5 separate regions of the Homo sapiens genome follow, and all the other regions are linked to region 2. The links are contacts of gene promoters, found by promoter capture Hi-C in blood cells and fetal thymus (Javierre and others, 2016). All regions are on one chromosome and are shown on one strand. The core of a region is centred on a gene start or on the middle of the fragment in contact, and the rest is flanking DNA. Distances in the headings are between cores, read along the strand shown. Region 1 has its middle 19 kb from the start of SNORA41B. Region 2 holds the start of COXFA4L3 (cytochrome c oxidase associated subunit FA4L3). Region 3 has its middle 49 kb from the start of SLC28A2-AS1. Region 4 has its middle 4.6 kb from the start of SLC30A4. Region 5 overlaps SLC30A4 (solute carrier family 30 member 4).

What was found. Contacts are between HindIII fragments. The CHiCAGO score rates a contact against its expected background, and 5 or more counts as called.
Region 1: a contact is called between a fragment that was not itself captured here and the fragment with the promoter of COXFA4L3 in region 2, in 2 of 17 cell types (M2 macrophages and monocytes). The highest score is 6.3, in M2 macrophages.
Region 3: a fragment that was not itself captured here is called in contact with the fragment with the promoter of COXFA4L3 in region 2 in 1 of 17 cell types (M2 macrophages); the score reaches 5.2 in M2 macrophages.
Region 4: a contact is called between a fragment that was not itself captured here and the fragment with the promoter of COXFA4L3 in region 2, in 5 of 17 cell types (M2 macrophages, total B cells, monocytes and 2 more). The highest score is 6.8, in M2 macrophages.
Region 5: a fragment that was not itself captured here is called in contact with the fragment with the promoter of COXFA4L3 in region 2 in 5 of 17 cell types (M2 macrophages, M1 macrophages, monocytes and 2 more); the score reaches 6.8 in M2 macrophages.

The regions. Positions count from the first base shown.
Region 1 is chr15:45,554,779-45,557,478 of GRCh38, reverse strand. It overlaps the pseudogene HMGN2P46. Among named protein-coding and RNA genes, the nearest start is that of SNORA41B, 19 kb to the right of the region's middle. The HindIII fragment of the contact is 4,930 bases long and covers 1-2,700 here.
Region 2 is chr15:45,429,312-45,432,011 of GRCh38, reverse strand. It overlaps COXFA4L3 (cytochrome c oxidase associated subunit FA4L3), which reads right to left and starts at 1,402. Exons shown (of 5, transcript NM_197955.3): 1 at 1,357-1,402; 2 at 1,180-1,242; 3 at 926-1,011. The coding sequence starts at 1,215. RefSeq lists a silencer at 1,380-1,459. The HindIII fragment of the contact is 4,531 bases long and covers 619-2,700 here.
Region 3 is chr15:45,326,801-45,329,500 of GRCh38, reverse strand. No RefSeq gene overlaps it. Among named protein-coding and RNA genes, the nearest start is that of SLC28A2-AS1, 49 kb to the right of the region's middle. RefSeq lists an enhancer at 2,309-2,700. The HindIII fragment of the contact is 1,369 bases long and covers 721-2,089 here.
Region 4 is chr15:45,526,022-45,528,764 of GRCh38, reverse strand. It overlaps the pseudogene HMGN2P46. Among named protein-coding and RNA genes, the nearest start is that of SLC30A4, 4.6 kb to the right of the region's middle. The HindIII fragment of the contact is 4,217 bases long and covers 1-2,743 here.
Region 5 is chr15:45,504,556-45,507,376 of GRCh38, reverse strand. The region is part of intron 3 of SLC30A4 (solute carrier family 30 member 4); the gene reads left to right. Among named protein-coding and RNA genes, the nearest start is that of SLC30A4, 17 kb to the left of the region's middle. The HindIII fragment of the contact is 758 bases long and covers 1,011-1,768 here.

The sequences.
Region 1 (2,700 bases), core at 81-2,580, 130 kb before region 2:
GTCAGCTTTATGTGTCAATTTATCTAGACTACAGTCCCCTGTTATTCAATCAAACACTAATTAAGGTGTTTCAATGAAGGTAATTTGTTGATGTGAATTAAATCCATAATCAGTTGACTTTATATAAGAGAGATTATTCTAAATAATCTGAGTGGGCCTGATTCAATCAGTTGAAAGTTTTTAATTGCAGAACTAAGGCTTCTCTGCAGAAGAAGAAATTTATCTGTAGTTAACAGCTTCAGCTGGTGTCTAAGAGACCAGGCCTGCTCTTCTAGGGTGTCTTGCCAGCTGCCACCATCACATAAGCCAATTCTGTGCAAAAACTCTCTTAATGTATACTTCTGGCTGGTTTTGTTTGTCTGGTTGAACCCTGAGGGTTGGAGGTTCAGCATAAGGAGGCTTGCACGGAGGAATAAAGGAAGAGAATCAGGCAGCAAAAGGAGTGCTGGTAGGGGAGTTGATTCGATAATTTTGCCCAAGGCAGGTATTATTTGGGGGGGCGGGGGAAAGAAGGGCAAAAAAGACAGGAGCCAGAGGAGACCAAGAATTCAAGAATGAAGGTGGAAAAGGTGAGGAGACTGGCTATCCCACAGACTCACTCTTCTTCAGCAACTTCAGTTGTTGGCAGTGCAGGAGTGAGGGAAAGGAGGATTGACTTTCAAATGGGATCTATCTGCAGACTGCTTGAAAGTTATTCTTCAGACAGCACAAGCTCACTTTGCCTTCTTTGTGCATTTCTTTTTTTTTTCCCAAGCCAAACTGTATCCAGCTTTATTAAAGATAATTTCCATAAAGAATCATGGTATTTTGGGCAGGACATGGGCAGACAATCGTTAACAGTATACAACAACTTTCAAACTCCCTTCTTCAATGGACTACCAAAAATCAGAAAGCCACTGTAAAACCCAATGAAGTCTTCATCTGATGCTCTGAACCGGCAAAGTTTAGTGAGGGTTGACATTTCACATTTAGCATGCTGTTTCATAGCTTTTCATGAACCGACCCTGGCTTTCAGGAAGTGAAAGGAAAATGACAGAATTTATCTGAAGATCCACAACCTAGAAACAGGAACCACTGCTCTTTTGAGGGCAAAGTCCAGATTGCCTGACACACTGGTAACCAATTATTGGGGGTCAGGTCCCAGAAGATGTCTGGGTTTAAGGGATTTAAGTCCATTCTGAAAGGTAGAAACAGAGAAGAGGACATAAAAAACGAATTTGTTTTTCCATACCACAAGGCTTTTATACCAAGGTGGCCATGTGTATCAAAGTCAGGGAATCCCTCTTCCTGGGACCCAAGAGGAAGTCTCTCAAAACCAGAAGGAAAAGGTGTTTTCCCCACATCAGTCCAGCTTCAGGGGCTTTCTATTAGTGACATATGGCCCTTCTCCCCAAAACAACAATGAAGTATTCTGTGTACTAACATAGCTTAAAAAAAAAAAAAAAAGCTAAACAAAATCTGCATTTTTATAAAACTTGATTAAAAAATAGTATTTCAAACTGTACAGTCACCAGAAGTACACAGTTATCAAAAATGCACACACTTCACTTGGCATCTCCAGCACCTTTAGCTTTCTGTGCCTAGTCTGTTTTGGCATCTCCATTTTCTGCAGGGTTATTCCCCTCCTTGCCAGCATCAGCTTTTCCCTTCTTCTCTGTAGGTACCTTCTCTCTCTTCTTTGCAGAGGCCTTTCTGGGCTTCGGCTGTGGCTTTGGAGGAGCAGGTTTAGCAGACAACCTTGTGGATCTTCTCTGCAGTTCCTACTTAACCTTGGTTTTATCTCCTTTAGCATCCCCTTCAGCCTTTCTCTCGGGCAGGGTGGCAGCGACAGTGGTGGGACATAGGCACTGGGCAGTGGAGCACGGGCTTTGGTCGGTCTAGGGGTCATCGCCTCTTCTTCTTCACACTGCTCTGCTTTGTGCATTTCTATTCTTTTTTGTAGCCAGAGAAGTAAATGCATATCTTTGCAACTAACACTTCCAGACTCATCTGCAAAATCAAGTGCACTAAATAAATAAATAAACAAATAATCAATCATGGGTCCTTTTTAGATAGTGTTTCCCCCCAAATACCATGAATAATTTCAGTAAATTTTTGATAAATACTAGTAGGTATTGTAAATTAAATGTGTATTTTAATAACTCAGATGCAAGAAGATCTAAAGCTGGAATAAATTAGATGTTTGGATAAATATACACTTAGGTCAGCTAATAAAAAGATGGCAATGTATGTGAGCTTTAAAAGGAAGAAGATGGCCCTTGACTCTGGTACAGCCTTCAAGGGACTAGCAGAAGTCAAGTGCATGGGCTTGACAAAAACCAGAAATAAGCAAAACATTAGAGATCCAAAACTTGGCAAACCTATAATTGTAAGTTGAAAATAACCTGCAATTAGATGAGAAATGTAAAAAACAGGCTAAAATTTTTCATATACAAATTAAATAAAAAGAAATAAGTTGAGAAAAATTTGAAAATCTTTGTGGTAAAAATTTCTTCTGAAAGCAACAAACTATAATATACACCATAAATGGATAAATCTCAAAAACATGCTGAGAGAAAGAAGTCCACACTAAAAAGTGTACACTGTGTGATTCCTTTTATATAATGGTGTAAAACAGGTTAAAACTCATTTGCAGTGGAAACTAATCAAAACAATGGCTAGCTCTGGGGGAATGGGGATGCAGAAAGGGATTGACTGGCA
Region 2 (2,700 bases), core at 153-2,652:
TGGGTTTATAAACATGTTAGGGACAAAACCAGTCTCATACTAAGGCATGTGTCTGCTAATGATCAGGAACCATCAGTAGCAACTAAAATTGATTGAAAATTCTCTAAGGGAGTTTCATGGTGTGGCTCAAACATTAAACATCAGTTCCCCTAAAGGGTAGGAGGTCTGTATTCTCTTGATTGGGCTGCATTGGGGAAGGATCCCACAAACCAAATAACCATGGGAGTGAAACTGCCAAGCCAAGGACATGCAATAATGTTCTTATCTCAGTCTGTGGGAGGGGCAGGTTGAACTCTGCAGGTGGTGAACTCCAGGGCTCTAGGCTCCTCTGCCAGCGGTTAGAGGACTGCCCTCTCCAGCCCTGCACCAGCCTCCAACAGTTTCAAGTTTATCTTTTCCTCATATTCCAGGATACATGTTTTTGTTTTTTACTTTCTTCTACCCAAAGTTGAGATTAGGTTCATCGTAGACAACTGAATCTATCAATTCTACCACATTAGTAAAAATCTAATAAGCTAAAATTTAAAATTTTAATTAAAATGATTGTTTCATGATATATATCTCCCAAAACCACTGAAGAACTTTAAATTTCAAAACTTAAAAAAAAAAAAACAAGCTTTACTTCACTGCCAGAGAGTGGAGAAGGGCCAATGGGTAAAAGAATAAACACAAGAAATAAACTAATTTGATTAATATCATGGGTTTTTTTAAATTTTTTCTTTTTTTTTTCTAATTTTCATTTTCTGACCCATTGGTAGACAATATCATAAGAGTTTTCTGATAAAAGATGCTTTTTAACCCTGACTCCCAGTTCACAATTTGGCATTCTCATCCATGGGAAAAAAATAGGAAACTTATACATTTCATAAACTAAAAGTCATCCAAACACTGCCAAAAACGTTTTTATAAATTGAGACCTACTTACATCACATCGGTTTTCCAAAGAGAATACACAGCGAAAGATGAGGCTCCACCCGCCGCCACAGTCATGAACACCACCAAGGGAATGAGCTAACAAATAACAGGTGGAGGGGACACATTTGGACACTTCAATATGAAACATTTGAAACACAGCAAAACAACTGTATTTATTTTATACTTTGTTCAAAATCTGTGCCATCTTTTCATCTTTAAAAATGAAAACTTTAGTCAAGATTTTCAATTGTTTTTAAAACTTACTTCCTTCCTTTTCATCAGGAGTTGGAAAAAGCTCATGATGACTTCAGCGAAGAATTGCCAAATCTAGAAATTAAAAATCCAAAGTATTGATCGCCTGGTGGGCGCCAAACCGTCCACCGCGCTCCGCAGGCCAACTGCGGGCCGGCGCGTCCGCGTCTCTGCAGATGGGAGACTCACCTGGACGCCGGGCGGTGCGCACGGACGATGGTAACGCCCGGAACCGAACGGGCCGGCGGCCTCCCCACCTTATATATAGCGACCACAACCGCCCCGGGTGGGCCGGGCCAGCGCGCTCTGGTCACGCGCGTGGGGCGGGGAGCGCGAGGGACCTGACTCGCTTTCCCCGTTGGGCACGCGACTCCCGGGCGCCCCCTGCAGGACATTCTGCGGCTGACGTGAAGCGCCCGAACGCGGGCGCTGGCGCCCCCTGCCGCTCGCCGCGGTCTTCCTTACCTGCCGACCCCGGTCGCTCTTGGCCCCCCTAGGTGCTTGTGAGGAGTTTGGAGGTTTGGGGAGTAGGAGGTGGAACCCCCTAAGAGGGGAGCGCAGATAGCCGAGGCCTGAGGGAAAGCCAACCCTTCTAAAAGGGTATCCGGGCCTGGCGCGGTGGCTTAGGACTGTAATCCCAACACTTTGGGAGGCTGAGGCAGGAGGATCACTCGAGTCCAGCCTGGCCAACGTGACGAAACCACGTCTCTACTAAAAAAAATTAGCGGGCGTGGTGCTGCATGCCTGCAGTCCCAGCTACTGAGGAGGGCGAGGCAGGAGAATCGCTTGAGTCCAGGCCTTTGAGGTCGCAGTGAGCCAAGATTACACCACTGTATTCCAGCCTGGGCAACAGAGCGAGACCCTGTTTTAAATAAAATAGAATAAAACAAAATATTTAAATAAGCAAATAAACAATAAAAGGGGGTCCGGAAAAATGAGCTGCAGACCGGAGGGTCCCAGGAGAGGCTCCCAGGTGCAGGCGGGTAAATTAGAATTAATCCAATCACATTAAAAGCTCCAAAATGTGGTCTGTGCACCTATGGAGATCATTAAAATTAAATTGTAAAGTTTATTTCAGAATAACTCCCAGGGCGTCCTGACTTTTTCTGCTAAAAAAAAAACCCAAAAAAACAAAAACAAACAAATAAACACAATAAAACAAAAACCCGAGGTCGAGGGAGAACAAACAAAAGAATAAGCTGGGGAGGCTGTCAGGAGAAGGTCTTTCTGCAAACGACCCTGCCGGCTGGTTTAGTCTTTGGGTTCCCTCCTAACTCTCCTCTAAGCCAGCAACCTCACTTTGCAGTTTGCAGGCGGCTGCAATGGTAACAATTTCACAGAGCCAGGGGCTGTGTGTGTGCCAGACACTGAGCCAGATTCCCCTCGGCAAGGTGGGTGCAAAGTCTTATTAAGACTCAGAGAGGCTCTGGTCACGTCACTGGTAAGTGGCGGCGATGCCATCAGAACGCAGGTCTGTCTGGTGCCCAACACCATGGTTCTGTCTGCACCCCTCTGTTAAATACTGCAATAAGT
Region 3 (2,700 bases), core at 156-2,655, 100 kb after region 2:
TTGTTTTAAAATCATTTCAGACACAGCATTTAGTATCACTGTGGATCCAGTACTTTGAAGTTAAGTTAGTTATCAGTACTTTGAAGGAATAAATTTTGGGTAGGTGTAGGAGGAAAGAATACATTTCATAAAATGTCACAGTGAATCTTACAACTCACCTTTCACTGGTAGGACTTTTAAGTATACTGTTAAAAACCTTTAACGCGGCCAGGCACAGTGGCTCACGCCTGTAATCCCAGCACTTTGGGAGGCCGAGGCGGGCCGATCACAAGGTCAAGAGATTGAGACCATCCTGGCCAACATGGTGAAACCCCATCTCTGCTAAAAATACAAAAATTAGCTGGGCGTGGTGGCACATGCCTGTAGTCCCAGCTACTAGGGAGGCTGAGGCAGGAGAATCGCTTGAACCCAGGAGGCAGAGGTTGCAGTGAGCCGAGATCACACCACTGCACTCCAGCCTGGCGACAGAGTCTCAAAAACAAAAGAAAACAAAAACAAAAACAAAAACAAAAAAAACCCTTTAATGCACAGTTATGGGAATTACCAGAGAGTGAGAGAAGCAGTGAGCTCACCCAACAAGGGTGGCATTGTAGGTCTGATCTTTATCAAGTGATCCTAGAAGAACAAGTTTGAATGGAAGAGTCTGGCATCATTGTTCTCCTTCTGCTTGTTGCTATTTGCATTCCTTTGTTGAGCTGATGTCTTCCTGTGTCGTAAGCTTTTCATCAGGTGTATGTGGAACACTTTAGTTTCATGGTCAAGACAGAATCAGAAGCCCTGGATACAGACAGCTGATGTGTCTGTTCTCTTCTTTTTTCATAACTATGTCTACTTCCTTATCTAGATTAAAATCAAAACCTGAAAAACTGACTACAATAAGTGTTTTGTGGTTTATCTATAAATATGATAGAAAATATGGCTGTTATTTTTGGTCAGAAATACCAATTTTGTACAGCTTATTTCAACCTAAATAAAATGTGAACTTAAAAACATTTTTGTTTTAAAAAACATTTCTTTATTGACTTCTACTACCAGAGTCGCTGTTGAGAAGTCAGATACCATTCCGATTCTTTATCCTTTCCAGTGATTTTATTTTCCTCTCTGTTAGGTCCTTTCTGTCTCCAATGTTCTGAAATTTAATAATAATGTGCTTTGGTGTGTATCTTTATTTTGCCTGTTATGCTGGGTTCTCAATGGGTCCCTTGAAATTGGGAATTCATGCCCTTCATTTCTTTGTAATATTGTTGAATTATTTCTTTTGTCTTTTATTTCTCTGAAAGAGTTTAGTTATTGTCTAAAGACTTAGAATCAATAGAAAGAAATATCTGGGTTAAGATAAGGGGTTGTGGAGACCAAGGCTTTATCATGTAGGTGAAGCCTCCAGGTAGCAGGCTTCAGAGAGAATAGATTGTAAATGTTTCTTATCAGACTTAAAGAGTCCATTCTATCAGTAATTCCAAAAGGGAGGAGGGTAGGATGAGGCATGTTCAACACCCATTTCCCATTATGGCCGGAATAGTTTCTCAGGTCAACTTTGGAATGCCCTTGGCCAAGAAGAGGGGTCCATTCAGATGGTTGAGGGGGCTTAGAGTTTTATTTTTGGTTTACAGTAGGTTGCCAGGCACATCCATTTAAACTGCTCTGGTACGGAAGTGATTTCTCGGCCAGGCATGGTGGCTCACGCCTGTAATCCCTGCACTTTGGGAGGCCAAGGCAGGCGGATCACAAGGTCAGGAGTTCAAGATCAGCCTGGCCAACATGGCCATCTCTGCTAAAAATACAAAACTTAGCCGGGCGTGGTGGTGCATGCCTGTAATCAGCTACTTGGGAGGCTGAGGCAGGAGAATTGCTTGAACCCAGGAGGCGGAGGTTGCAGTGAGCCGAGATTGCACCACTGCACCCCAGCCTGGGCAACAGAGTGAGACTCCATCTCAAAAAAAAAAAAAAAAAAAAAAGAAGTGAAGAAATGATTTCTTTTTTTGTTGCTATCCCTACTTTTATACCTAAATTTTGGCCAACTAATGTATACTGAAAATATAAATAGAGCATACAGGTTCCAATGATGAGTTACTTTGTTGATAAAGAAGCTTGTGGGTGAAGTGTTAGCAAAACCTTTTCTCTCCTACATGAAAATTTGACTTTTGGTTAACTTTCTACATCTTTTCCACTGGCAACCTAATAAGGACTGTGATACTGTGATATAGTAAGAAATACATATTGGGTCTTCAGGCCCCCAGTTTCTGGTACAGAGATTCTAAAATTCTGGTAACTTCCCGAGTGATAGGAGTGACAGGAGCGTCTTTTGTTAAAATCGCTGGTTTTTATCCCTGGTTCCAGGCGCAGAGCTTCTAAAAACTCTTTGAATTTTCTGAGCAATCGAGGTGACAGGAGCATCTTTTGTTATTTTCAACAAGCTCTTTTCGAGTGTACATGAATTATGTTAATTAGATGACTGGTGGCTGGAAGCCCATAGATAGCTTCAGGATGGGCACTGGTTGCCAGAGGAACCAAACATGTGATTATAGAGGATTGGAACTTTCAGCCCTACTCACCCCGAGGGAGGGAGAGAAAAGCTGGATTGAGTAAATCACCAATGGCCCATGATTTAAGCAATCACGCCTATGTAATAGAACCTCCATAAAAACCCTAAACAAAGGGCTTCAGAGAGCTTCTGAGTTGGAAAACACATCGAGCGGCTGA
Region 4 (2,743 bases), core at 154-2,653, 97 kb before region 2:
GAAACCGCGTCTCTACTAAAAATACAAAAAATTAGCTGGGCGTGGCGGCGTGCGCTTGTAGTCCCAGCTGCTGGGGAGGCTGAGGCAGGAGAATGGCGTGAACCCAGGAGGCGGAGCTTGCAGTGAGCTGAGATCGCGCCACTGCACTCCAGCCTGGGCAACAGAGTGAGACTCGGTCTCAAAAAAAAAACGCTGGATAAATAGGAGTTTGCCCTACAATTCAACTCAAGTAGAAGCTAGGGGCTGGACCTTTAAGATGAGCTCTCCTGACAATGTTGTTGTTTTTAACCTAATTTGAGTCAATCCAATTTGAGAATACGATGAAAGCTAAAAGACTTATCCCAGAAAATATACATGTCCTCAAAATTTTGCACATAAGTTTAAGGCCTCCCAAACTCCCTAAAACCCACTCAGAAAATCTAGATTAAGAATCTCTAAAACAGCCAGGTGTGGTAGCTCATGCCTGTAATCCCAGCACTTTGGGAGGCTGAAGTGGGTGGATCACTTGAGGCCAGGAGTTTGAGATCTGCCTGGCCAACATAGTGAAACCTCGTCTCTACTAAAAATAGAACAATTAGGCTGGGCGCGGTGGCTCACGCCTGTAATCCCAACACGTTGGGAGGCCGAGGCAGGTGGATCACCTGAGGTCAGGAGTTCGAGACCAGCCTGGCCAATATGAGGAAACACAGTCTCTACTAAAAATACAAAAAATTAACTGGGGGTGGTGGCAGGTGCCTGTAATCTCAGGTACCCAGGAGGCTGAGGCAGGAGAATTGCTTGAACCCTGGAGGCGGAGATTGCAGTGAGCAGAGATCGTACCACTGCACTCCAGCCTGGGCAACAAGAGCAAAACTCCATCTCAAAAAATAATAATAATAATAAATAATAACAATAAAAATAGAAAAATTAGCCAGGCATGGTGGTGCTTGTGTGTAATCACAGTTACTCGGGTGGCTGAGGCATGAGAATTGTTTGAACCAGGTAGGCAGAGGTTGCAGTGAGCCGAGATCACACTACTGCACTCCAGCCTGAGTGACAGAGCAAGACCCTGTCTCAAAGAAAAAAAAAAAACAAAACTGTAAGATTTTGCTAGGGGTGCATATTGCCATTCCATTGTGATATTATAATTTAGGTTTAAATCAGAAGCTACTACAGAATTTAAATATTGGCTGGGCATGGTGGCTCACACCTGTAATCCCAGCACTTACAGGAGGTTGAGGCAGGAGGATCACTTAAGCCCAGGAGTTCAAGGCCTGCCTGGGCAACATGGCAAAAAACCATCTCTACAAGGAAAAAAATACAAAAATTAGCCGGGCATGATGACAAGCACCTATGGTCCCAGCTAGTCAAAAGGCTGAGGCAGGAGGATAGATTAAGCCCAGGAGGTCAAGGCTGCAGTGAGCCGAGATCGCACCGCTGCGCTCCAGCCTTGGCAACAGAACGAGACCCTGTCTCAAAAAAACAAAAAACAAAAAAGCCACAATTATTTCTTCTTCCTCTTTTTTTGGTTTTGTTTTGTTTTGATTTTTAAAGATGGGGTCTCCCTCTATTACCCAGGCTGGAGTACACTGGCACAATCATAGCTCACTGCAACCGCCAATTCCTTGGAGGCTTTAAAAAAATTTTTTGGAGAGACGGGGTCTCAATATGTTGCCCATGCTGGTCTTAAACTTCTGACCTCAAGAGATCCTCTCCCCTTGGCTTCCCAAAGTGTTGAGATTACAGGTATGAGCTACTGCATCTGGCTGTTTTTTGTTTTTTTTGTGAAACAGACCCAATAGCCAAAAGGACACCTCTATAGGCACACCTTGTTTTATTGTGCTTCACTTTCTCGCACTTGTTAGATATTGCCAGTTTTGCAAATTGAAGGTTTATGGCAACCCTGTGTCAAGCAAATCTGTCGCCGTCATTTTTCCAATAGCCTGGGCTCACTTCATGTCTCTGTGTCACCTTTTGGTAATTCTCTTAATATTTCAAACCTTGTCATTATTATTATATCTGATATACTGATCTGTGATCAGTGATCTTTGATATTACTATTGTAATTATTTGGGGACATCACGAACCTTGTCCATATAAGATGACAAACTTAACTGATAAATGTTGTATATGTTTTGACTGCTCCATTGACCAGCCGTCCCCCTTCACTCTCCCTCTCCTTGGCCCTCCCTATTACGAGACACAATATTAAAATTGGGCCAGTTAATAACCCTACAATGACCTCTAAGTGTTTAAGTGAAAGGAAGAGTTGTATATCTCTCACTTTAAATCAAAAGCTAGAAATTATTAACCATAGTGAGAAAGGCATATGGAAAGCTGAGATAAGGATGGGCATGGTGGCTCACGCCTATAATCCTAACACTCTGGGAGGCTGAGGTGGGAGAATTGCCTGAGCCTGAGCAGTAGAGGTTTCAGTGAGCCATGATTGTGCCTGTGCACTCCAAAAAAAGGAAAGAAGGAAGGAAGGACGAAAAGAAGGAAGGAAGAAAGGAAGGAAGGAAGGAGGGAGGGAGGCAGGCAAGGAAGGAAGGAAGGGGAAAGGAGGAGGGAAGGGGAAGGAAGGAAGGGGAAAGGAGGGGGGAAGGGGAAGGAAGGAAGGGGAAAGGAGGGGGGAAGGGGAAGGAAGGAAGGGGAAAGGAGGGGGGAAGGGAAGGGAGGGAAGGGAAGGAAGGAAAGAAAAAAGAAAGAAAGCTGAGATAGGCTGAAAGCTATGCCTCTTCTTTTTTTTTTTTTTTTTTTGAGA
Region 5 (2,821 bases), core at 140-2,639, 75 kb before region 2:
ATTATTCCTGAAATTTATTATTTATTTATTTATTTATTTATTTATTTATTTATTTTTGAGACAGAGTCTCACTGTGTCACCCAGGCTGGAGTGCAATGGCGCGGTCTCGGCTTACTGCAACCTCCACTTCCCAGGTTCAAGTGATTCTCCTGCCTCAGCCTCCAGAGTAGCTGGGATTACAGGGGCCCGCCGCCACTCATGGCTAATTTTTGTATTTTTAGTAGAGACGGGATTTCACCATGTTGGCCAGGATGATCTGGATCTCCCGTCCTCGTGATCCACCCGCCTCGGCCTCCCAAAGTGCTGGGTTTATAGGCATGAGCCACCGCCCCCAGCCAAGCCTTACTATTAAGAACCTCAGAAAAATAGAACTTAAAAAATAAAAAGAAGTAACCACTTAATGCATATGGTATTTCTTTTTGAGGTGTTGAACATGTTCTGGAATTAGTAGTGATGATGGCTGCACAACCTTGTACATGTACTGAAAACCACTGAATTGTACACTTTAAAATGGTGAATTTTGTTACATGAATTTTATGTCAATTTTTAAAAGTCATCTAAAAAAATGAAAGGGAGGGAATTGTTAAAGATATAGATAGATAGGTATTTCCTGAGCTAAGAAGGTACTCAAGCTTCACACTGAAACTTTTGGGATCTTCTTTTTTTTGTTGTTTTGTATTCTGAAATATTATGAGGGGATATCTAGATATAGACCTTATTTCACTTATTCTGCTCTATGAAATAATGGTGGAAATTTGGAAGAAAAAACTTAGTTTGCTTGAGGAAGATTCAAAGATACATAGAATTTGATGAATAAAGCTGTAAACCAAAGCAGTTGGTGTCCCTGAGTTCCACAGTACCATTGCTTCAGAGTAATCTCTTGAAGTTCTATGGGGAGAGATATATTTACATTTGGACACACTTAAGTAGGGTAGCTCTTGTGATCTCTAATTCCAGACTTGGAGATTCAGGTCCTGAAAACTTCACAGAGGGAATCCCCACAAGAAGCTTGGTTTGTTACCATTCTTGTTGAATTTTGTTTTGTTTTGATGACATGGTGGGGTGGGACAGGGATGGGTTTTTTCTCTGTTGATTTATTTTGTAAATATGCAAAACATGTTGCAAAAGTCAAATTTTATTTTATTAATTTATTTATTTGAGAGTGGGTCTCACTCCGTTGTCCAGGCTGGAGTGCAGTGGCGTGATCTCAGCCCCCTGCATCCTTGACCTCCTAGGCTCAAGCAATCCTCCCACCTCAGCCTCTCGAGTAGCTGGGACTGGGACTGGGACCACAGGCATGCACCACCATGCCTGGCTAACTTTTGTATTTTTTGTAGAGACGAGGCTTTGTTTCCCAGGCTGGTTGCAAACTCTGCAGCCTGTTTCCCAGGCTGGTTTTGAACTCTTGAGATCAAGTGATCCACCCGCCTCGGCCTCCCAAAGTGCTGGGATTACAGAGATAAGCCATCATGCCTGGCCAAAAATTATTTTTTAAAAGAAAACACAGAGAAGTCTTGCTTTCATTCCCCTCCACTCCATCTCCCCATACCATTCCATAAGAGTAGACCCTTTTAATTGGTTTCTAGCCTATCCTTCCAGCACTTCCTTTTGAAAACATAAGCAAATACATATATATGTTCATATCCTGCTTCTCACCACCCTTTTTTATGCAATAGGCAGTATACTGTATACTCAACTCTAGACCTGGAGGCAGTGATTCTATATAGAGTTCCACCTCCAGATCACTTTATAACAGTACATAGAAGCTTCTGGTTTGAAAATGTCAGAGCTTAAAGGAGGAGAACAACCACTTAACTATTCAGATAGAAGTAATATTCCCTTGCTCCTTTTGAATAAAAATTGAAAACAGGATATTGTCTTGGGATTCTGCATGAGGAAGCAGAAAATTAGATTTCCTGGGAATTTCTTCTACACTGAAGAATGAAATTTTACACTCTATCTGACAATAGTAAATATCAAACCATAGCTTAGCTGTAATTGCCATTTTAGTTGTTATATGGATGTGTTTCTGCTTTAAAAGATCACATTCTCTGTAGGCTTTAGATTGGTTTATATTTATTTATGGACTATTGATTGTAGCCTTTTTTTTTCTTTTCTTTCTTTTTTTTTTTTTTTTTAATTTTTGAGATGGAGTTTTGCTCTTGTTGCCCACGCTGGAGTGCAATGGCGCAATCTTGGCTCATTGCAACCTCCACCTCCCGGATTCAAGCGATTCTTCTGCCTTAGCTTCCCAAGTAGCTGGGATTATAGACGTGTGCCACCATTCCCAGCTGATTTTTGTATTTTTAGTAGAGATGGGGTTTCACCACGTTGGCCAGGCTAGTCTCGAACTCCCGACCTCATGTGATCCTCCCACCGCAGCCTCCCAAAGTGCTGGGATTACAGGCGTGAGCCACCATACCCGGTTGATTGTAGACTTTTGATTGGTATTTACAAGGACCCATGAGAGGCAACAAAGAGAAGTTGTCAAGAGAACAGACCCTGAGACCAATAGTTTGGCTCAAGCTCTGGCTCCCTAACTTCCTACCAGTTTGACCTTGGGCAAGTTACCTAACATCTTTGTGCCTCCATTTTCTATTTGTAAAAGGAAACTAATAGTAGTGCCTACTTTATAATAGAGTTATTACAAATATTAAATGAGTTAATATTTGTAAAGTAATTAGAAAAATGCCTGGCACTTCAAAAGCAGCCTTCATTTATTCTTTGGAAATAATTTTAAATGAATTCAAGGTTTATATGTAGCTTTTAGGCATATATACATAAATGTCACTGTAAACTGCAGAATATCCGATCTTTAAAA